Linked DNA regions of Homo sapiens: region 2 is linked to region 1. Evidence: promoter capture Hi-C in 16 types of primary human blood cells and fetal thymus (Javierre and others, 2016). All regions are on one chromosome and are shown on one strand. The core of a region is centred on a gene start or on the middle of the fragment in contact, and the rest is flanking DNA. Distances in the headings are between cores, read along the strand shown.

Evidence for each region. Contacts are between HindIII fragments. The CHiCAGO score rates a contact against its expected background, and 5 or more counts as called.
Region 2: a contact is called between a fragment that was not itself captured here and the fragment with the promoter of SETBP1-DT in region 1, in 1 of 17 cell types (naive B cells). The highest score is 5.6, in naive B cells.

Annotation. Positions count from the first base shown.
Region 1 is chr18:44,677,328-44,681,910 of GRCh38, reverse strand. It overlaps SETBP1-DT (SETBP1 divergent transcript), which reads left to right and starts at 2,039. Exons shown (of 2, transcript NR_187430.2): 1 at 2,039-2,295; 2 at 3,022-4,583. SETBP1 (SET binding protein 1) reads right to left here and starts at 1,023. Exons shown (of 6, transcript NM_015559.3): 1 at 890-1,023. RefSeq lists silencers at 1,149-1,198, 1,339-1,588, 2,259-2,898. The HindIII fragment of the contact is 7,071 bases long and covers 1,224-4,583 here.
Region 2 is chr18:45,257,274-45,261,764 of GRCh38, reverse strand. It overlaps a transcript of SLC14A2 not described here. Among named protein-coding and RNA genes, the nearest start is that of SLC14A2-AS1, 240 kb to the left of the region's middle. The HindIII fragment of the contact is 1,334 bases long and covers 1,863-3,196 here.

The DNA.
Region 1 (4,583 bases), core at 790-3,289:
GAATAAACTGCCCTTTTGGAGGAGAGTTTCTGCAGGGATAAAGAGACACACAAATTGCCCTTTTAGCGTTAGATGTCAACCGTGAGATTATCAGGACAGTTTATTTGAAACGGAAACGAATCGGAAATCCTTCCCACAACAGTCCTTTTAGACAGATACACACCCTGAGAATCCAACACAGACACACATAAAGAATAAATGCAGCATTAGGGGGCAATAAGAACTCCCCTTCCACACTCTCAATACCTCTAGCCTCATCTATTTCCAATTGCACAACTTTCAATCTCCAATGAAAATATTTCCAGTTGGATCCGATTTCAGACTTGTAGTAAGCGGTCTGGATGGGGGGGCGGGGGGAATAGGTGCTGTACTGTGCAGGGGAGGGGGGCTGGAAGACAGTATTTCGGCAGTTAACTTATTTTTTTAGAACCAGCATGCTCTACCGATCAGAAATTGCTATTACCCAACAATGCTTCCATCACAAACAGACACTGAAAACAGCATCCCCGTTATCACCATCTTGCCAAAGATCTGCCCGGTCCAGTTTACCTGACTTTGTCCCTGCGGAACTTCTCAGACAGTATTTCGGTCAAAGAGATAATGGTTTGGAAGACAAAAACAATAAATCGATACCGAAGGGTTCCCTTTCCGGAGTGATTTCCCACTGGAAACCACCGAACGGGGAAGCCTGCCGTTCATTCCCAAGCCCACGGCTCCTCTAGAAACGCACACAATGCGTGCTTTCAAAAAGGCATTCGTCTGCTTTTAAGGGAATTCCTATCTTTTCAGAGTCCCAAAACCAGAGAGCACAAGAAAGAGACTCAAATCCATTGATTAAGATTTTTAAGAAAAAGACTAACACACAGGCACAACACAAGCACACACCAACCTTCGCCGGCTGGACCACTTCTTGCCTGTTCTTCTTTCTATTAACGACACGTTAGATTCTGATACATTCCCCCCCCAAAAAAATCCAACTAGGTTACAATGTAGCTCTCTAGCTCCACTTAACCTGCAAGTTACAAAGAGAGAAAAAAAAAATCCTGCCTTCCCACCCCTTTCCTTACCCCCTCCCCCTCCCGAGTCCACTCCACCAACGCCAAACCCGCCAGCCCCGCCAGCCGGCTGCAGGACCGAGGGAGGGTGCAAAAGGCGGGGGGCGGAGGGGGGGTAGATCAGATTAGGCGAAACTCAATAAGCTCCCAGCCCTCCAGCCCAAAGCTTCCACCATCGCCGCCACCAACGAGCCACTCCAATTGAGCCAGCATCGCCGCCCACCCGCCGGCCCGCCGGAATCGCGCCCATCTCCTGCAACCTCGCCCGGACCGGCATCCCGCCCCCTCGGCCCGGTCTCCCCCTTCCCGCCGGGTGCAAAGTCAAAGACCCAGCAAGGCGACGTGAACTTTTGCATGCAGGGCACACACGTCGCCCCCGGTTCCGGGAGTGCGGGGGCCCGCGGCGCGGAGGGAGGCTGGGCGCCCGGGCTCCCGGGCCAAGGTCGCCGCGCGTGCTCACCCATGTCCCGGCGGCTCCGGCTCCGCTGGCCCCGGCGCTCGCTCAGATCCCGGCTCCCGTCGCTCGCCCGAGCCCCCAAAGGTGCTGCTGCGGCAACTCCATGGCGATGAGCATCTGTCAAACGGCGAGCCGCGAGCTGGCCGCCCTAGCTCGGGGGGCGCCGGGGCCCCCGGGCGCGCGGAGGCGGCGGCGAGCGGCGGGCGCCCCGGCCGGCCCCGCGCTTCCCGCCCGACTCTGCCGCCTCCGCCGCGCCACCGATTTATGGAGAGAGATATCAAGGGGGAAAATGGCGTCTCCGGAGCCCGAGGAGTCCTGGAGTAATCACATTCACACACACACGCCCGCACGCACACACACTCGCACACACTGGCACACAGGCGCGCGGCGAGCCCTGCTAATTTTAGCAGGAGCCAAAAAAAATTTTATATATATATATATATATATATATATATATATATCCCCGTCTCTCCGATCAATGCTTTTTCTTTTTTTGCTTTTTTTTTTTTTTTTTTTTTTTTTTTTGCTTTTCTTCAAAGGATGGGTTGGAGCGTTAAAAAATGTTGGTGGGTTTGGGCTCGCAGGAGGCGGCGCGCGGAGGGCGAGGGCGCTTTTGCTGAGCTGTGCAGTTCGGTCCGCTGAGCCCGGCGGCCCTGCCCGCCCGCTCGTCCGCCCGCGGTCGCTAGTGTTGCCGCCGCCGCCGCCGCCGCCGCCGCTGCTGCTCCATGGCCGCGCCCGCCCCGCGCCCCCGCCGCGTCCCGTCGCCGCCCGCCCGCGTCCCCGGTGAGCGCTGGAGTGGGGTCGGGCCCGTGTGCCTGCCTCCCGCGCCCTCTCCGAATCCCGGACTCCTAGTGAAAGGAAGGGGGAGGGCGCGGGCGCGGAAGGGAGGTGGATCGGAGCGGCAGCGCGGCCCAGCCGAACGGGTACCGACCGTCACCCCGCGATCTTCCTCGCAGGGGGCGCCGGCGCCCAAGCTGCTCGCCCGGAGGGCCCAGAGCCGCTTCCCAGACCAGAGCCGGGGGAGGCGCAGCCAGTAGCGAGCCCTGAGCGACCTCTCTCCCCACTCGCCCCCCTGCCCCAGTGAATTTCTGTCAGTTGAAGGGAGCGGGGCTCTTGCCCGGGGAAAAGGAAAACAGTTCGTGGCCTGGGATCTGGGACCCCTTGCCGCCCCCAGCGCCCCTCCCGCTCCCCGGCGCCCTTGCGGCCCAGTGGCTCCTGCGCGCCGGAGTCCGCCGCGAAGACTGAGCGGCCGCGGGGATCGCCGCGGGCTCCGCGCGTATTCCTGGGCTCAACACTGCCACTATCTGACACAACAGGAGCAGTGTCGGGGGGGTACTGCGCGCCCAGACGTGAGCTGTGATAGGCTCTCGAAACTGGGCGCATTTTTTTTTTAACCTGGTAATTATATTTCACTTTCAGGGTTTTTTTAAATTATTATTATTATTTTATTGTTGTTGTTAAGCGACTTGTATGCATTCAGATCTCATGTGCATTTTCTCGTTATTCAAGAGAATTGGACACTTGATGAAGGGAAGGACACGGAGAGATGACAAACGCAGACTGGCATGCAGTTGTTTTCAGGGTGGGAAGAACAAAGTGGAATGTCTTCAGTTCTTACAAAATATGGTGGCATTTGTAATCTCTGAGTTTTTGTATTTGGCCTACAAAGGGGGTCTTTTCAGGGAAACACGAATGGAACCCTTCAGAGACATGTCTACATTGTAAAACAATATAGGATAGATACGGATTCGGGAAGGTCTGCAAATGGTTCCGCTCAAAGAACTTGGGGTAAAGTTGACCGAGGACTCGGATTCTGAGAGGACTCCTATCACGTTCTTCATGAGAGTTTTAGGCTATTTGGACTGAGGAATGATTTGGAGGTACGTCGGGGGCATTCCCTCACTGAGGCCATCAGTGGCTGCCTCCCTGCATTGGCTGCTGGTTTGAGTTCCTTCACAGAACTTCTTCGTCAAGTTTTTCATAGGAACGCTGCAGTGAAGTGGAGTGAAAGAGACTGGGGATTGAAGGGTGAACCCCTTCCAGCCCCAATCCCATCCCGATTCCTGTCTGGATGCAGATTCAGTCTGACTCAGAACGGATAGTTCACCCTTTTACTGATCCAAGTGCTCTGTCCTCTTTTTTTCAGAGGAATGTTCTGACTGGCTACAAACTTTTCTTCTGTCACTGCAGGACCTCCCGTGGAGCAATTTTCGATAGGTCTTCTACTATGCTTTTTTACCGCGTCATTGTTATTGCTGAGAAAATAATGCTTAGTTAGGAAAAAAAATAGCAGAGCATATGAGCTGATGATAGAAGTAGAGATCAAGGCACAGAATACAATATCAAAACAACTATTCTCTGTAATCAAATGACCTTTCTCATTTGCTTGTACACCCAGATTTCTGAAATCCTACACCAAAGTCCACAGAGAACTAAGATAGCATGTGGCCTATTCCCCGCGCTTTTCCAGTGGAGAAAGTAGCCCCAGAAATCAGAAGGGTTTGTCCACAAGCATATGGCTGTCTGATGTCATCCAAACCAGAACTAAAGCCTATTGCCCTAGTCGTTTCCCTTCTATAACCTAGGCGTATTTACAGAGTCTTCCTTCCTGTGGTGTTGTGTGGATTAGAAAAGTAGCTAAGAAAAGCACATACCTTATTAAAATTCACTGCAATAGATGATAAGTCTGTAGAATTATAGTGCAGTAGAAGTTTACCTGTGAGATCATCTATTAGAATCCCATCTTTTTAAAACTGAGGAAACGATGCACTACCCCAAGCCACTAAGTTAATTCAAAGCCAGGAATAGATGCTATGTTCCTTGACTTCTTATCCAACGTTCCTTCCTTGTATGTAGCCCATCTCTGAATCATGAGAGGGGAGAGGAGAGAAAGGAAAGGAGGGATATTCTCACTCTCTTACATATATATGAAAAAATATATATGCCTCTGTGTGTGTGTGTGTGTGTGTGTGTGTACACACACCCATAATAATGTTTCAGTGAACAACAGACCACATATATTACTGTGATCCCATATAATATAATACTGTATTTTTGCTGTACATTTTCTG
Region 2 (4,491 bases), core at 1,280-3,779, 580 kb before region 1:
AATACTATGCAGCCATAAAAATGATGAGTTCATGTCCTTTGTAGGGACATGGATGAAATTGGAAATTATCATTCTCAGTAAACTACCACAAGGACAAAAAACCAAACACCGCATGTTCTCACTTATAGGTGGGAATTGAACAATGAGAACACATGGACACAGGAAGGGGAACATCACACTCTGGGGACTGTTGTGGGGTTGGGGGAGAGGGGAGGGATAGCATTAGGAGATATACCTAATGCTAAATGACGAGTTAATGGGTGCAGCACACGAGCATGGCACATATATACATATGTAACTAACCTGCACATTGTGCATATGTACCCTAAAACTTAAAGTATAATAATAAAATTAAAAGAACAAAAAAAGAAAATGTGGCACATATACACCATAGAATACTATGCAGCCATAAAAAATAATGAGTTCATGTCCTTTGTAGGGACATGGATGAAGCTGGAAACCATCATTCTCAGCAAACTATCGCAAGGACAAAAAACCAAACCCCGCATGTTCTCACTCATAGATGGGAATTGAACAATGAGAACACATGGACACAGGAAGGCGAACATCACACACCGGGGCCTGTTGTGGGGTGGGGGCAGGGGGGAGGAATATCATTAGGAGATATACCTAATGTTAAATGACGAGTTAATGGGTGCAGCACACCAACATGGCACACGTATACGTATGTAACTAACCTGAACATTGTGCACATGTACCCTAAAACTTAAATTAAAAAAAAAAAGAAATTAAGAGAATAGAAAATAAAATTTATTTTGGATTCAGAGGGTACACGTGCAGGTTTGTTACATGGGTATATTGCACGATGCTGAGGTTTGGGGTACGGATGGTCCTGTTACCCTGGTGGTGATCATCATACCCAATGCATAGTTTTTTAGCCCTTTCCCCACTCCCTTCCTCCCCTCTCTAGTAGTCCCCAGTATCTGTTGTTACCATCATTATGACCATGTGTATTCAATGTTTAGCTCCCAGTAAATGCCAGTACATTGTTGATTCTACAACAAATGCCAGTAAAAATACATGGCATTTGGCTGTTTCTGCATTGTTAATTCAAGGATAATGCCCTCCAGCTGCATCCATGTTGCTGCAAAGGACATGATTTCATTATTTTTTATGGCTGAGTAGTATGCCATTGTATATATGTACCTTATTTTCTTTATCCAGTCCACTCTTGATGAGCACCTAGGTTGATTCCATGTCTTTTCTATTGTGAATAGTGCTGCAATGAACATATGAGTGCATATGTCTTTTGACAGAACCATTTATTTTCCTTTGGGTATGTACCCAGTAGTAGGGTTACTGAGTGTGAAGTTTTTAAAAGTTGACTTGCAACATGGTAAATGCTACATAGTGTTTGCTCTTCAAATTTAAAGATCTCTGTAAGATCTTTCTTCCTGTTACTTCATGATGTGACTCAGAATACTATTTAATTCTTCTGGGTATAGCAACTTGTGACTTCCTAACTAAACTGTAGGTTGTTCAAGGGCAAGGACACATGTGCCTTGTGTTTATGCCTTCCCTAGTATGATCCATTGCACAGAGGAGCTGCTCAATAAATATCTAATGATGGATTGATTCATAAGGTCCTAAAGCCAATGTTCTCCTATTTCGTGATTTTGCTTCAGGCTAACTTGTCATCTGTGTATATTTTAACAAACTTGGAAAATAGAAAATTCTCTAGTGCTAGAACTGGTCTTCCCTGAACTCTGTCAGAGTTTGCTAAGGGAGTAGTTAGCTTTTTGACATCCCTCCCTCCCATTCCCCCTCTACCAAAAAAATCATTCCATTAGCACCATATCTGAGAAGACAAATTCAGAAATACTGAGCCCAATGCTCAAGCTTTGTGCTCTACCGTTATTTTTTCTCTTGTCTGAGGGACAAAACAAATCCTGCCATCTACTTCCCCAGATTACTCCTTTATATTCTTTTCTTCCAAGAATATACCTTCAGAGTAAACTTGGGCTTCAGTGCTTGGCAATTACTAAAGAAATAAAATATTACCCTTCTCGTTAAGCATTTTGGCCACATTCTTCTTGGTTCCATTTTCAATATCTAAAGTGCAGTGCTCCTTCAGTGCCCTTGAAGACATACTTGTTTCCTTACTGAATGCATTATTCCATAGGAAAAAAAATCTTCATTCAATTTATGAATCACTCTTATCTTTACTCTTCACCTTTCCTTCTCTTTGTATTTCTCTCACTTACATACTTCTAAATTATTTCTGGCCAAACATAAGGCAGCCAACTTGGAATCCTGAGTCTGTAGCTATCTTTATGATCATTCTTTTGGTGCCATTTATGTGAAATGAATTCCCATAGATTTGGGGCACACTGCAAACTCCTTTCATTTTTCCAGACAGCAGCAATTGTGCTGTGGCGAATTATCCAAATGCTGTTTCTTTCCCCTGCCCTGGGTTGTCATTTCTCTCCAACATATTATTTCTTCCTGTTTTGCCTCTATGACCCTACAGTGGACATAATTCATGATTCCAAGGAACTTTATTGCTGTCCTAACCCTAAAAATTATTCCAGAGTGATAGGGATCTTTCTCCACCCTCTGAGCAGGAGAGAGGAGATAAGAGTGTACCACTGAAGTTTTCCAAACCTCCCTTTCTTTTCTGCCTGATGTCTTACAGGCCAAAACCACTGCCTTCTATTTGAAAAGCAACTGTAGGGGTTAGAAGGCAGTGTAGCTCCAGAGCTCAGGGAAATCCACGTGTGAGTGTGCCAGTGTCAGCATATGAAGGGACACACTCCAATGAGAATGGTAGTTCCTGGATGAGACGCTGCACTTCTCTGAGGTGATGTAGAGATCAAGGCAGCTGAGAGAAGTGCAAGGCCTGGATTTGAAGAAACTACATTGAGTTCCAGTTCTTCCACCTTCAAATTCTCCTCTAGGAGCCTGATCAAGTCACACCCCTAGTCATCTTTGGAAAGGGGAGAGACAACTTCCATCTCCCTCACTGAGCTGTCATGGGGATCAATGATCTCAGTACTGGTCAAAGCATTTACAAACTGCAAAGGACCACGTGGATGACGTTACTGGAAAATAAGATACTATAACAAAGAATAAAAGGATGATTATTAAAATGGTCATCCAAATCAATTGATCAATATAATTTGCACTTATTATGTCAGGAAGAAGCAATAAGAAAGGTCCTTGCCTACAAGAAGCTTAAAGTTCAGTTGAGAAGACAAAAGTACCTAGCTTATCCAGACTTACACAGCTGGAACCCTAAGAAAGCAGATCAAATCAGGTGCTAAATTCTGGGCTGTAGCATATTGCAATGGTTCTAAGATTTCAGAGGTTTAAATATTTCAGATAGGAAATAATAATATTGATCAAATGTTCCTACTCCTGATACTGGTAATGTTTTCACTGTTGCAACAGGGGTGGTCTGTGAGATTCGGGCACTTCTGGGCATCTGTGCTCCTGGGTTATGGTAGGCTCCTGGGCACTATGTCCTACCATTGTCAACCTCCCATCACAGAAAGGAGGGATGGGAGCCCAGTGTGAGCGTGCAGAGTCCAGGCTTTAGTGTCAGTCAGCCTCGTTCAAATCACATCTCCAAAAGTAACAACAGGTGACCTTGGAAAAGTGATTTATGCCTTTTATGCCTTGGGGGTTATAACTGTAGCTCGCTCATAGGATGGTGGTGAGAATGAAACGGGGGTCTAGGATATGCCAAATATGAAGAACAGTGCTTGGCATATACTAAGTGCTCAGTAAATGCTCATGACAGTTGTGACTACTGTAGTTGTTATTATTACAAGTGTTTTCCAAAGTGCTTCATTTGGGAGCAATAGTCCTTGTGCGTACTAGTTGTGCCTGATATTTCTCCCAGAGGATGTTCTGTGGCTCAAATATGTGATAATTGCCACCTTTTACATGAAAAACAATGCACATACGTTTTGAAACTTGGGAGAAATCCTTAAAGAGATTGAACTTTAGCCAACCTAGGTAATATAAACATACTTGACTATGGGGCCCTTGGGTCCTACTTAACACCAGTGATTTTATACCTTCTCCGCAGGGCACACTTTGGGGAACCTCCTCTATGAGGTTGGAGAAATGGAGGAAATCTCCAATATACTGATATTTTAAGATTGCCAAGAGCTACATAGAAATAAAGAAATCAATTGGAAACAATATTAACCATATTGTAATTTCTAAAAACTCATGACTTGCATATTTTAATTACTAGCTCATTATTTGATTAAAATTGATTGAAATATTAACTTTTCTTCTTGCTGGCCAATAGCTGACCTGCCATTTTATTAAAAGAAGAGAGGAAGAACTTAAGAATTAGCATACAAAGTCTCAATAATGGCAGAAGGGCCATAAGGTATGCATTAGGATTACATGTGTCTCATGCACTGGTAAATACAAAAGTTAGGAATAACTTCCTAGACAACTTAGTCTATTACGTGTGAATTTATCTAAAACTCCTCAGTGTCCATCATCCCTGGA